3 separate regions of the Homo sapiens genome follow, and regions 2 and 3 are each linked to region 1. Evidence: promoter capture Hi-C in 16 types of primary human blood cells and fetal thymus (Javierre and others, 2016). All regions are on one chromosome and are shown on one strand. The core of a region is centred on a gene start or on the middle of the fragment in contact, and the rest is flanking DNA. Distances in the headings are between cores, read along the strand shown. Region 1 holds the start of PARD6B (par-6 family cell polarity regulator beta). Region 2 holds the start of NCOA3 (nuclear receptor coactivator 3). Region 3 holds the start of ZMYND8 (zinc finger MYND-type containing 8).

Region 1 (4,527 bases), core at 26-2,525:
TCTATTTTAAATGTTCTCAGGGCCCAGCCAGTGTCCTGTTTTGTATTCTGCAATGTCTAGAAGTTATTAAAAAGGCATGAAGGCTTTGCAAAAAAACAGCTTGAGGAAGTCATAACCTTTCTAAGCCTCAGTCTTCTCAGAGAATTGGGCTAGATTATCTAAGCTCCTTTTAACTCTTCAACTCAAGAAACGCTTGCTGAAAGTGTTCCCTTGGCTGCCGATCACCTTCAAATTCCAGCTCAAAACCCCCTTTGGAAGGCATTCCCTAACTAATCCCTCCCTACAGACTACCCTGCTCACTGAGCCTTGAGATTTAGAAATTCAGTGAATACCGAAGTAATTATCAGCAGATTGGCATACCGTTGGTCAAGGGGAAAAGCACTTGATGTGAGTAGGTAGCAGGATGGAATGAAAAGAGCATCTAGAGTCAAACTGTAAAGTGCTACTCCAACGTAAGGTGATAGTACTAATTTTACAGATTAAATGCATACCAAAGTTAGTGCTAGAAAGAGCGCCAGCAGGAAGCAAAGCGAACTTTTAAAGGGCTGTTTAGTTCACTGGGCTCTCTCCTTCGCCACTCGATGCGCCCCTTAACCACAGAAAGTGGGAACAACGGGGTGGTCCAGGGCCCTTTACTCACAGCCCAGCAGGCAGGATTCTCCTACACCTTTTGAGCAGCCTCGCATTTCACTCAGTGTGCGCCATCCTTGGATATACCTTGGCCCCTACTCCCGTCCGTGAACACGGGAATGAGATTTACGGAATGAGATTAAATGCTGGACTAGGTCTTCTTCCTGCCCGGGCCAGGGGCGGACACTAGCGCCCCCTGACCCCCGCCACCCCCTCCTCGGCAAGTTTATTACCCACAGTCTCCCGACCGCACCGTCCAGACCCCGGGGCAGCTCAGCCCGTCGCCTCCCCCGGCGCTCCGAGCCTGGCCCGGCCTCTCCCAGGCCCCGGCCCCCCAGGCCCGCCGCTCCGCCCAGCCCGGGCCCCGCGCACCTTGCTCTTCACCTCCATAGTGCCCAGGCAGCCGCTGCCCGCCCCGTGCCGGTGGCTGCGGTTCATGCTGAACGCCGAGCCCCGCGACGGCCTCCTCCGGCCGGGCGGCCCCTCAGGAGCGCGGGGAGCGAGTGCGCGACTGGGGATCTCGGAAAGCGGTTGCGGCCCGGGCGCCTCCTCACAGGCACCTGCAGAGGGGGCGGCCGCAGCTCCGGCGTCCGCGCTGAGCTCCACTCCACCAGCTGCTCACACGGCGGGACCGAGGGTCGGACTGGTGGCGCGGCAGGCGGGGAAGCAGCTCCCTCCCTCCGGGCCCCGGCGGCGACGGCGACAGCGCTGGAGGAGAGGAGGGGGCGGAGCGGAGGCCACAAGCGCCGCAACCTCTCCCTCTGCCGCCTCCCCCGCGAGCCCGCGCGCGCGCACCCGAGCGGACCACAGCCGCGGCGCGTGCGCGCGCTCACCTGCAGCCCCCGAAGATGCCGCAATCCCTCGCGTTCCGCCCACACCCAATAGAAAGCGCGCACCTGCGCCCGCGGCGCCAACCAATCGATACACGCCTCGCGCGGTGCGTGGGCGGGCTGCCTCCTCAAAACCCCGCCTACCACCGCACGATTGGTCCTGCGCTACGAGGGAGGGGCGGGATCACCTGAAGCCATGGCCCTCCGCCCCGCTTCAGGCCGGAGAGCCAGAAGGCGCATGCGCGGGTGCTGGAGTTTCCGCCCCGGGAAGGCACGCGGGGAGGCCGGCCGGAAGCGCGAGCGCACCTGAAGAAGGGCTCGGCTGGGTGGGCCTTTTGCGCACGCGCGAGCGCGCGCCTGGTTGCCCGGCTCCGCCGGGGCTCGCGCCGCTTAGCGCGCGCCAGTCACACGCACGGTCCAGGGGATTGGATGCGCCGCCCGTCCGGTTGCCGAGGCGCTGCGGGGCTATTCGGTTCCAGCCGGGCCCCCTTCCCGCTTCCACTTTGGGATGCTGCAGCCCCCAACGACGCCCCTCCACCGCCCCTTATCGTTGCTTAGGCGTCCCGCTGCAACTCTTGGTTGCAAAATTCAAGTTTTCCCGCCTCTGCAGCGGTTGCTGGGGGAGAAGCTTAGGGCTCTCTTGGCTTCATTTTGTCCGAAGAGACTCTGCACGCCTTAAGTCCGTCAGGTCGAGAGGGAAGGAAAGTGGGCTGAGGCGCGGGAAGGCTCCTTGCAGGCCCAGCCTCCCTGAGGATTTCTAGTCCAGTCTTTCAGGGCTTTTTTTTTTTTTCTTTAAAAGTCTTCCTTTTCCCTCCTCCCGCCATTCCTTGGCCATTCGCTGTTTCTACAAATGACAGCCTCTAGGTTGTGTTCGTTTCCCGGAGTGACCAAGCTGTGTCCCAGAGCAACAAAACGCTGAATCCTCCTCTCTGAACGTCCCAGAGCCCGGCCTCTCTTCACACAGACCCTGTGGGTCATGGGGAGGAGAGGAGAAGACTGAAGCTTTTGGCTGGAGGAGATTCCCAGGTCCCAAGGTCTCCCTGTGGGACCCGGGAATCCAAGAGCTGTTGAAACCTGCAAGCCAGGAAGGGGGCAGGGGAATGGAGGTGGAGGGGAAGGTCCAACCTGAGATTTGGCAAGAAGAGTGGTTAGGGTACCTTCCTCCCCTCATCTCCCTGCCCACCTCGGAGGCCTCCTAACACTTGTACCCCTGTTGCCCAGCACTTGTTACAAGTTACAGGTTTCCCATTTTTGTGTGCATCTGAGTTTTGTGAGTAATCTGCCACCAGCCTAGAATGAAAGCTCCCGAAGGCGCAGGGACGGCTTGTGCTTTGCTGGCATTGAGTGGCACAGAACCCGACTCCCAGCGGGTACTCAGATGGGTCTTTGCTGGGTGCTGCCACTGAGGGTGTCCCTTCTGCAGGCTCTTTGCCCCACTTGGGTTCAAAGGCGAGAAGCTCATTTTTTTCCCTCTGGAGGATTCAGGTAACCAGACGTTTTGTGGGAGGATTTAAGGTTTTTCTGGCCACCTGTGGCAGCACAGGTGGAAAGGACACCAATCCAAGCTGTATAATAAATAAGCAAGCTGCCTCCACCCCCTGTTTGAAAGCACATAGGAGGTGACTCAAGTTCAGCCGGAAATAAAGTGCATGTCAGGGCCTGTAACTCCCCTGTTTGGACTAGCACAGCAGTTCCCAACCTTTTTGTTTTCAAGACCCCTTTACACTATTAAAAATCATGGAGGACCCCAAAGTACTTTGTTTATGTGTAATGTCTTTCAATATTTATCTTAGAATTAAAACGGATGTGTCCAAAACATGGGAGTACACAAGCATGCATTCCAACAGTCATCAGAGTGATGATGTCATCACATGTCTTGTCCCTTCTGGAAAACTCCATTGTATACTCGTGAGACAATGGGAATGATGAGAACAAATGACATCTTAGTTTTGTGAAAGCAGTTTTGGCCTTGCAGAGACCCCCGTAAAGGGGTCTCAGGGACTCCCAGAGACCACACTCTGATCATGGCTGGACTAGATACCATGTCACCACCTTTAGAGAGCTCCGTTCTTAGGTCTCCTCCTCCTCTCCCTGATTGGCAAGGCCACACCCTGGGAGCAGCACCCCAGCTCTGTGTGAGTGAGTGTTGGGTGGTTGAGTTTTACTCCTGTTATCGGTACTGATTTATCAGGAAGTTCGTGGGTGCCAGTGCACCTGCGTGGGCCCTGCATTCCTGGAGGTGTCGTCACATCCTCTCTCCCTTCCCCAGGTGTGGCATCCCTCTTTACTTGGACTTTCCTTTCTAGAGGGAGGGCCAGGCCAGAGCTTCCTGGATTTCTTAAGGAAAATTATTTCAACCCGTGCGCCTGGGTTGTATAAGGAAGAAAAGTAGAAAATAGTTGGAATTTGATAAAGGTATTGTGAAGGAAGAAAATCCTTTCATTCTGAGAGATGTTAAGGCCACAAGTGTGTTCACTGGGCCTGAATTTCAGCCTTTCTTGAGAAGCATGATCAGCACAGACGAGGATTTTATATTCCCGTTTCTTCCATTTGAAGGCTAACCCTAACCTTATTTCTGTCCATCATCCCTCCCCACCCCCAAATCCTCAAGCTAAAGCTGATCAAGACTTACAAGTGGCCTAAAAAGCTAGTCCCCTGCCTGGGAGAATTAATACTCAGTGGGTTAGGGAGATAAGTAAGGTGAACATATGACATTATGGACTCTCTAAATTATAGGTTCACAGAATCGTTAGTCCAGAATGGGCTACCAGAGATAATCACGCCCATACACTGTCAGGCCTCTCCACTCTCTGAAAGAAGTTAGTGAAGGTTACACTCCTGCTTTCTGCTCCTTTTCAATACTGTCTGTGTCTTTAGGTTCTACAAATACCCTGTTGTGTTTGTTTGAAAGCTACCTTGTGAGGTGAAAGGAGTTTGTAATTTTCCACAATTAGTTTTCTTAATTCATTATTGTGTAATGATTCTTCTTCCTTTCCTTCTTCCTCTAACTCTTAGGAAAAAAAAAAAAGGTGGCAAGAAGTCATCTGTAATGCTGGTAAAAATTTTT
Region 2 (4,029 bases), core at 50-2,549, 3.2 Mb after region 1:
AGGCCAGGCATTTAAATCAAAGAGATGCAGCAATCTTACTCAATACTACTACCACTCTCACGCATCTCATTCAACTCCATTTAAAACCACTGCAGCAAGACAGCTGGTACTCTCCTTCCTGTTTCTTTACCGTACAGGCTTAATAACAAAAACAGGTTGGTTTTGAAGCCCTGCTCAAATATTGCAAAAAGGAAGTCTTCGCATTCGGGAGGGGGAAAAAAGTTTCGACTTCGAGAGAATCTCATAGCTTCCGTGTCATTCCATTTGGGAATCCCAGATCCTGCCAGTGAGGTAGATGCTCGCTCTCTCGGTTAACTTTTCCACCCTAGATGCCCTCAAACTGCCTAGGAAGCAACTAAGTCTCCCAACGACCCATGGCTAGTTTTGTTAAGGCAGGTACAAGACAAGCAGTTTATTTAAACCATGACGAACTGGGTCGATGTTCATAAAATGAGAGATGGGGAGAGCAAAAAAAAAAAAAAAGTAGTAATAAAGACAGCCAAACTCCTAATTTTATCAACCAACTTCCCACTTGCCATTTCCCAGCCTTCACACCAGAGGTAGTAAAACGCCTTTTTACCGAGAAAACTAAGAAGCTACCCGAGCCCAACATGAAAATTCCGCGGACAATTCGTGTTAAAATATTTTTTAAATGCCCAAGTGAGGAGGAAACACAGCAACCAAATCTCACCCGGCTGGGAGGCTGGGGTGGGGGGGGTCCCCGCGGCTTTTCCCTCCCGTGCGTCCCAGAAGCTGCTAAGGAGCCGGGGCAGCAGGAGGACGACGCGGGGAGCTTTCAAAAGGGCTGGGGGAGGCAAGAGGAAGAAAAAACTTTAGGGACAGAAGGGGAAAGTGGGCCCCTGCAGTCCCCCCGCAAACTCCTCGGGTGACCCCTCCGCGCGGGGACCCCCTCGGATCCCCAAGCGGACTGCCACCCAGCTTCGTCTCAGCTCCTACCGCCGCGGGCCGCCCCCCGGGCTGAGGGGAAGCGGCGCGGCCCCGACACCCCGAAACTACCTCAGCGCGTCCCCCGGCCGGCGCGCCCCTCAGTGCCTTGGCAGATCTGAAGCCGCTGGCTCTCGCAGCCTGGGGAACTCGCCCCTCTTCCCTCCGCCTCGCACTCCACCCCCTCGCCCGCCACCGCCTCCTCCTTTATCTCCACTCACCTCCCGCCGCCATTTTCCTCGCAGCTCAGCTTTAAATCGGAAACTCGCCGCTCAGCCCGCAGCCGCCGCCGGCCGCCACCGACTAAGCCGCAGCCGCTGCCGTCGCTGTGGAGCGGCTGAGACAGCAGCAGCTAAAGTCGCCGCACGGGGGCCACTGGGATATGTAGTCCCGAGGCCACGCCCAGCACTACCGGTCCCAGGGGGCCTTGCGCGGCCGGCCTAGGGTTCCAGCGACCCCCACCCTGGCTTCCGCGGCGGAGGGCGTGGCGACGTGGGCTCGTGCGGCCGCTTTCGCCCAGCATCGACTGGGAGCTCCCTCGGGATCCGGAGAACCGGAATGCAGTCCTAGCCCTGCCCTTAATTTTTTTCATATTTGCCTTCGTCCAGTAATACCTAACATTTGTGGAGCGTTTCTGGTATGCCAAGCACGGATCCTCAAAACAAGCATCCGGTAGGGACCATGATCATCCTCATTTTTCAGATGAGCGAACTGAGGCACAAGGTCGGAAGCCACGAGGCTGTTCCTTAGCTGCTAAAGTCACTGGGTGAAATGTTGTTGGGCAGCAGTATATTCAGGGTATATTTAGTCCCGAAGTATCATCCCACAGCGTATTTATGACTTACAATAAAGAACAGCTTGCTTTACAATGGAAAGATCTGGCAGGCACCCCCTTACCAAGTGATCGAACTTAGCACCACCAATAATGGGTCAGGACTGTTGTTATGTGTCTCCTAATATGATGCAGTGGGGAAAGCATATTGCTACCTCTGTCGTATTCTTGCCACATACACACAAAAAGCTTACTTGAAAAAATAAACGAATTCAGAATGTGGGACATTCTACACAACATCTAGCCTGGAGTCTTTTAAAATATGACAGCATGAAAGAGGTGAAAACCAAAAGCAATAGGTGAGACTTGATTGGATTCAGGATGATTTTTTTATGTAAAAAGAATTTGGGGGGCAATTTCAATGTGGACTGTATGTTAGATAATATTGAGTCAGTATTAGATGTGTTGAGTGTAAATAAAATAGAATAATCTGACCACTTACCACCTCCACGGTCAGCACCATCATTTCCCACCTGGACCACTGCAACAGCCTCCTCAGTGTTCTGCCTGCTTCCACTCTTTCCTCTTAGAGTCTATACTCAACACAGCAGCCAGAGGAATCCTGGTAAGAACCAAGTCAGTCTCTGTCCCTCCTGCAAAATTCTTGCAGTAACCTGCAAAGCCCCATACAGCCCGTCTCTTGCCCTGCCCTTCCCTCTCTAAACTCATCACCTTCTTCTCTTCCACTCACTTCTGTAACTCAGCTACAATGGACTCGGCCTCTCCAACGTGCTTAGCACACTCTGGCCTTAAAGATCGTGCACTTGCTATTTCCTCTGCCTAGAACAGTATTTTCCCAGAAAATTCAAATAACCCATTCCCTAATCTCCCCATGGTCATTGTCCAAATGTCACTTATTCAGTGAGGCTTTCCCTAACTGCTCTATTTTAACTTCCTGCCCACTCTGATCCCAGCTTTCCCTACTCCTATTCCTTTCTTCATTTATTTTCAGAGCATGAATTATCATTAAAATCATGATATATTTCTGTTTACTTATGTTATTTAAAATATCTCATTTTGGCTGGGCGCGGTGACTCACGAATGTAATCCCAGCACTTTGGGAGGCCAAGGCAGGCAGATCACCTGAGGTCGGGAGTTCAAGACCAGCCTGACCAATATGGAGAAACCCCGTCACTACTAAAAATACATAATTAGCTGGGCATGGTAGCACATGCCTGTAATCCGAGCTACTCAGGAGGCTGAGGCAGGAGAATCACTTGAACCTGGGGGCAGAGGTTGCGGTGAGCCGAGATGGCACCATTGCACTCCAACCTGGGCAACAAGAGTGAAACTCCGTCTCAAAAAAAAAAAAAGTAAAAATTAAAAAATTAAATATCTCATTTCTGGGCCGGGCACGGTGGCTCACACCTGTAATCCCAACACTTTGGGAGGCCAAGGTGGGCAGATCACCTGAGGTCAGAAGTTCCAGACCAGCCTGCCCAACATGGCGAAACCCCGTCTCTACTAAAAATACAAAAGATTAGCTGGGCATGGTGGCAGGCGCCTATAATCCTGGCTACTCGGGAGGCTGAGGCAGGAGAATCACTTGAACCCGGGAGGCAGAGGTTGCAGTGAGCCGAGATCGCGCCACTGCACTCCAGCCTGGGCCACAAGAGCGAAACTCTGTCTCAAAAAAATATATATATATATATTTCCACCAGGGCACAGTGGCTCAGGCCTGTAATCCCAACACTTTGGAAGGCCGAGAGATTGCTTGAGCCCAGGAGTTCAAGACCAGCCTTGGCAACAAAGCAGATACCCAGTCTCTACAAAAAATTTTAAAATTAGCTTGGTGTGGTGGCGCCTGCTTGTATTCCCAAGTACTCAGGAGGCTGAGGTGGGAGGATTGCCTGAGTAGGGGAGGTCAAGGCTGCAGTGAGCCATGCTTGCACCACTGCACTCCAGCCTGGGCGACAGAGTGAGACTCCATTTCAAATATATATATATATAAAATAAAAATAATAAAATAAAATACTGCGTTAGATGCTGAGAACCCAGAGATGAAATGCTCACACGTGTATGGCCTTTCACCTCAGCAACTGCACCTGTCTCCTAGCTACTCTCCTTGCTTCTCTCCCTTTCATCCTCTACAGGGCACTCCCAATACAGTAGCCAGAGGGATCCTTGAAAAATCATGTATTAAATCATGTTACTTCCAACCTAGGCCGGGTACGGTGGCTCACGCCTGTAATTCCAGCACTTTGGGAGGGCAAAGCAGGCAGATCACTTGAGGTCAGGGTTTTGAGGCCAGC
Region 3 (4,608 bases), core at 1,418-3,917, 3.4 Mb after region 1:
AGATAACCTCAGACCTACCCGAATGCCAACAGCATTCCTCAAACAGAGCAGAGCTGCCAGAATAAGCCAGCAGCTTCCTGCTCTTTGCCCCAGAAAACATTTCAAGTGATCAAGTGATCAGAGAGAGGGAGGGAGGCGGGGAGGATGCTGTAGCTGCTTATGCAACAAGCTTTAATCCCAGGTTAAAATCCACCACGCACACCAGCGGCATATTTTATTTCCTCATTGGTTCGTGGACTTAGCTGCATGGGAGATCTGCCACCAACCCCACAGTCCTGTTTGTTCCCCTCAAAGCAGCACCCGCAGAAACAAACAGCATTCCATATGGGATGGCGGTGGAGGGCCGCTGCCCACACAGCTAGGAGGGTGAGCACGCACTGCTTCACTGTGGCCTCCACCTCTCGCCTCCTCCCATTTAGTCTCCCCATGCAGCTTTCTACCTCCAGGAAGAGCAGGCCCCTCCCTTTTGGTGAGGCCCAGGCCTGCTGTCCTGAGCCCTGGAGCTTTGTCAGGTTGGGTGGCCATGGAGCTGTCCCTCCCTGCAGCTTGGCCTCAGCAGCCTAAAACAGTAACAACAGCAACATCCTGTCCGTTTTTATAAAGCCTGGGTCCTGCCCTGCCGTACAGTGAGTTTCGATTCCCAGCTCGTTCCTGAGCCTGTTTGATATGAGATTCCCGGCCAGGAAGAATTTATGTACAAGCAGTGGGCATCTGTTGTCCATGTGGGGGTTGGGGGGGGGCAGGGAAAGCAAGCCATCAGCTCTTCGTTTTCTTTGTGGGAACCGTGTGGGACAAGAAAGCCCACAAGTCCTAATTTTAGGAGGAGAGGGGAGACTTTATTGCTCCGGAGTTATGCCTCCTGGCATATGGCTGCGTTAACTCTGGACGCTTTCTCCAGCCTCTAAAGAATGGTGTTTATTTAGCTTCTGTGGTTCCAGGTTGCTGTTTTAAAAAATCCTGTTAATTAAGCACCTTGTCATTTAAAATGCCGAAGAAGGAAAGAGAGCGAGAAAGCTGGGGACATTTTACGGTCCTTTTCTATCTCTGGGTACAGACCAACTGCGAAGGCAGCTTTAGGGAGGAGACCAGCAAAGACCTCCTAACGCAATTGAAGTGGGTAGAATTGTAAGCAGCTCTGAACAACCAGTTAATATTTTACTGGGGAGCGGTGCCAGAGATGGGGGGGTGGGGGGGCTGCCAAATGGAGGGCTGTGTGTGAAATCGCTGCTCCATCTGCCTTGGGGGACGAAAAGAAGCCGTTCTCTGTGCAAATAAATGGAAGCAAGAATCCTTAGGAAGCCCAGGGGATTTGTCTGCCCACCGAGGAGGGCCCAACTCCCCCAGGCACACACATACAGGGATGATTGTGGCAGGAAGGGCTGACCTACGGGGGTAGGCCTGACGCATAATGGGGGCTCTTGTTTCCGGGCTGAGCGTGCCATCTTTCTGTCTCCCTCTGGATTGAAATGGCTTCTCAGCCCGAGAGGCACTGCCTGTGCCCTGGATTCACAAGGTACACGCCTCCCTGGGAAGCAAAGGCTGAGAGACAGCGGCTCTCTCTCTCTCTTTCTGCATCTGCCGGGAGAGCTGCAGCTGGTATTTTTCCACAGGCCTTCGCTGCGATCTCAAGGCCTAGTTTTTCCCAGCCAGGCCCCGAGTCCGAGAGAGGGTTAACAGGCAGGAAGCCGAAGGCATCGCAGGCTAATACGGAAGTCAGATTTGTGTTTAACTGACAGGTTTAGCAGGTCTCGGCCGCGGGGGAGGGGCCGGGAGGGAAGGGAAGTTTGTAGATCCAGGCATGTGGCCTGCGAGGAGGGCTTTGGGTTTTTCTTAGGGTAAGGACCGAGAGGGGTCCCCCTTGGCATCGTGGCAGGGCGACAGGAACCCACGTTGATTTTGCCTGCAGGACTGGCTAAGCAGGGCGCGAGAGGCCCACGGCTCCCTGGCCTGCCTTGCAAGGAGGCATGGGGACAATGACTATGCAAACTTGACCACTCTGCTCCCCTCCTCCCCTCAGCAGCTACTCCTCGCTCCTCTGAGAAGCCAGGGCTGCTCTCTGCTGATTTTTCGGGGCTCCCCCGGGCTGCCTGCTTCCCCCAGCTTCTCAGAGGCCTGCCTCAAGCCCCTTTTTCTGGCCCCTTGGCTGTTTCCCCGGGACTCCCCACTCCCCAGCTTCCCCTTCCCCTTGGAGAGCCACCCTGCTGGACTGTTCTAGAAAAAGGCTGGCCTTCCTCCCTGGACAAGGGCCGTTTCTCTGGGGGCAGGTGAGGGTGAGCCGTTCCAGCCCACTCCAAGAAACTCCCTTCCCAGGGACCTCCGGGCCTCAGGCTTTCCTGGAGCAGGTCAGGCTGGCTGCCCTGGCTGGCCCGTGCCGGGAAATCTAGCCAGGGTGCAGGAGAAGTGCGTGTGGGGGCCCCTTTCCCAAGTTTTTCTTGCTGCAAAAGGCCTAGCTTAGCCTGTCTTTTTCTATGCACAGGATGGCTCTTGCTCACCCGAGCCTCACAAAGATAATCGCTCAGGAAGTGTTTCAGCCAATCCGGGGCGGCTTTACACTCCGATTTGCCGGGGCAGCCAATCGGGGATGAGCTTTTATTAGGCGGCCAGATCATCAGCCGAAGTGCCAAACCCTTTTTCTGTGAGAACTAGGAGCCTGTCCTCCATGTTTTATAAGTATTGACATTACACAGTGTTAACAATGCATCCACAGAGGTAAGCTCGACTTTTTAACCATCTTTTTTCCCCCTCCCTCTGAGACATCCGAATTGTGGGCGAGCAGTGTGATTTCTCTGTGGCTGGCCGTGCCACACTCACCCCCAGAGCACTTATGTTAACTTGGAACTGTTTAGAGAGAATTTTTTTGCTTTCTTGGGTCACATGGCTCAGTAGCCATTAGCCATAGCTTGATTTTGCAAACTGGCAAGGGCCTGGCACACCTTTCCTTCCACCAGGGCATGGTGTTTCTGGAAGAGTTTGAAGCTAGATCCTGGTATGCCAAAAAAGAAGCTTTTTTTTTTCCTTCTTTTTTTTTTTTTCTTTCCCTCTTCCCTCTCTCTTCCCCTCTCTCTCTCTCTGAGCAGTTCCCCCCCTCCCACCCCTGCACTATTGTCTTCTCTTTTGCCACATGCCCTGCTGGGGGAAGAAAATGGAAGGTAAGCAAACAGGCTCCTCTCCAAGGAGAGCTCATGGCAGACAGCAGAGCAGGCAAGTTTGCCTCTCCAAAGAGGTTCTGGGAAGGCTGGATAAGTTTTGACAAGAGAGGAGCGTGTTTGCAAAAGAATTGTGCCCTCAGCAGAGCAGTGCTAAGGAGAGTCTAGCTCCTGGGGCCTAGGTGGGTGGTGGTGTCTGTACACGGTCTTCTCTTATTCTACAGAGCTTCTGCACTTGAAACTACATTGTTCAGCCTGTTTTCCTGACTTAGGTTGCTACAGAGTGTTCTGCAAGCCAGCCTACAGCCAGCAAATGTTTCTGAAAGTGTTTTCTAGGCTTTGGAGGAAGTTTTTTGGAGTAGGGATGGGGACTGGGGGGTGGGGGGAGAGATCTTGGACAACATCCTGCAAAAAAAAAAAAAAAAAAAAATCTGCAAGGATTCTGAATCCCTTAGCTTTCTACTCTTGCATGATTTTCAAGGAACTAATGTTACCTTTTATCCTTGTTTTCATTTTCCTGTCCCTTTTATACATTGTATCCTCCTCTCTTCTCCTGTGTCATGGAGTGTAGAGGAAATAAAATCATGTCTGTGGCTCATGACAGCATTCCATATTCAGTTGTTGGGTTGTGTTGTTGTTGTTGTGTGTGTTTTTAATAATACCATGTAACTGTTTAAAAAAATTTCCTTTTTGATCAAGTCCCAAATCTGCCAGCCTGTTCTCTCTTCCTAACTGTGGAAAAATGAGACGGTTGCTTGAACATTTGTTGGGTAAGTAAAGCAATCCATTTCCTCTGTGACCATGTTTGAAGAGTTTTGCGAACATTTGGGGTCTGTTTGTAATAGTGGGTCTTGGCTACAGGAGTTGGGGGCTTCATTAGCAGGAACAAAATAAGGGCTTTTTAAAGAGTGTCTTGATTTTAGGTGACTGTTTGAATCCACTGTTTTTCCTGATAACCTGCAGCTAGGATTGAAGATTATACTTCCTGTTTACCCTGAGTCAGGGGAGAAATGTTCAGTTCATTGTGACTTGACTCTAGACCTTTAATGGGGTTTGTTTGGATATTCAAACTGTGAGTAGGTGATGTGCTTGTGAAATGTCATGAAACTGCTTGTTCTTAGAGGTGCAGAGCCCTAAAAACATTGGTGGTGTAGAAGCTGGTGGTGGTGGTGGTATGTGTGTGTTGGGGGGGTGGTGTCAGTGTGCTCATGTTTTAGGACTTATGTATAGTGCAAAATCTCATCTACCACCAGACTGGGTTTGATTCAGGACTCACTGACCAACACATTTTGGCCTTTTTTCAGGTCTCCTCCACACATCTGTATGCATGCTGGCCCCACATAAGATTTCTCACTTTTTACATTTCCCTTGACCACTTAAGGCTGCAGCTAGAAGTTAAGTGGGAAAAGTAGAGTCTTGTTTAGCAGTACCTTCAGAATTTCCCTAGAAGTTCAGTACATAA

The links. Contacts are between HindIII fragments. The CHiCAGO score rates a contact against its expected background, and 5 or more counts as called.
Region 2: a contact is called between the fragment with the promoter of NCOA3 here and the fragment with the promoter of PARD6B in region 1, in 1 of 17 cell types (fetal thymus). The highest score is 6.9, in fetal thymus.
Region 3: a contact is called between the fragment with the promoter of ZMYND8 here and the fragment with the promoter of PARD6B in region 1, in 1 of 17 cell types (activated CD4 T cells). The highest score is 5.3, in activated CD4 T cells.

What each region holds. Positions count from the first base shown.
Region 1 is chr20:50,728,328-50,732,854 of GRCh38, reverse strand. PARD6B (par-6 family cell polarity regulator beta) reads right to left here and starts at 1,275. Exons shown (of 3, transcript NM_032521.3): 1 at 1,003-1,275. The coding sequence starts at 1,068. RefSeq lists silencers at 833-1,622, 1,723-1,932 and enhancers at 2,123-2,172, 3,125-4,324. The HindIII fragment of the contact is 2,238 bases long and covers 1-2,090 here.
Region 2 is chr20:47,499,157-47,503,185 of GRCh38, reverse strand. It overlaps NCOA3 (nuclear receptor coactivator 3), which reads right to left and starts at 1,299. Exons shown (of 23, transcript NM_181659.3): 1 at 1,167-1,299. RefSeq lists a silencer at 940-1,059 and a cis regulatory region at 2,311-2,383. The HindIII fragment of the contact is 2,001 bases long and covers 1-1,968 here.
Region 3 is chr20:47,354,758-47,359,365 of GRCh38, reverse strand. ZMYND8 (zinc finger MYND-type containing 8) reads left to right here and starts at 2,667. Exons shown (of 23, transcript NM_001281775.3): 1 at 2,667-2,709. The coding sequence starts at 2,696. RefSeq lists enhancers at 1,022-1,627, 1,307-1,656, 2,407-2,701, 2,236-2,843, 2,687-2,856 and 5 more and a cis regulatory region at 347-560. The HindIII fragment of the contact is 2,834 bases long and covers 172-3,005 here.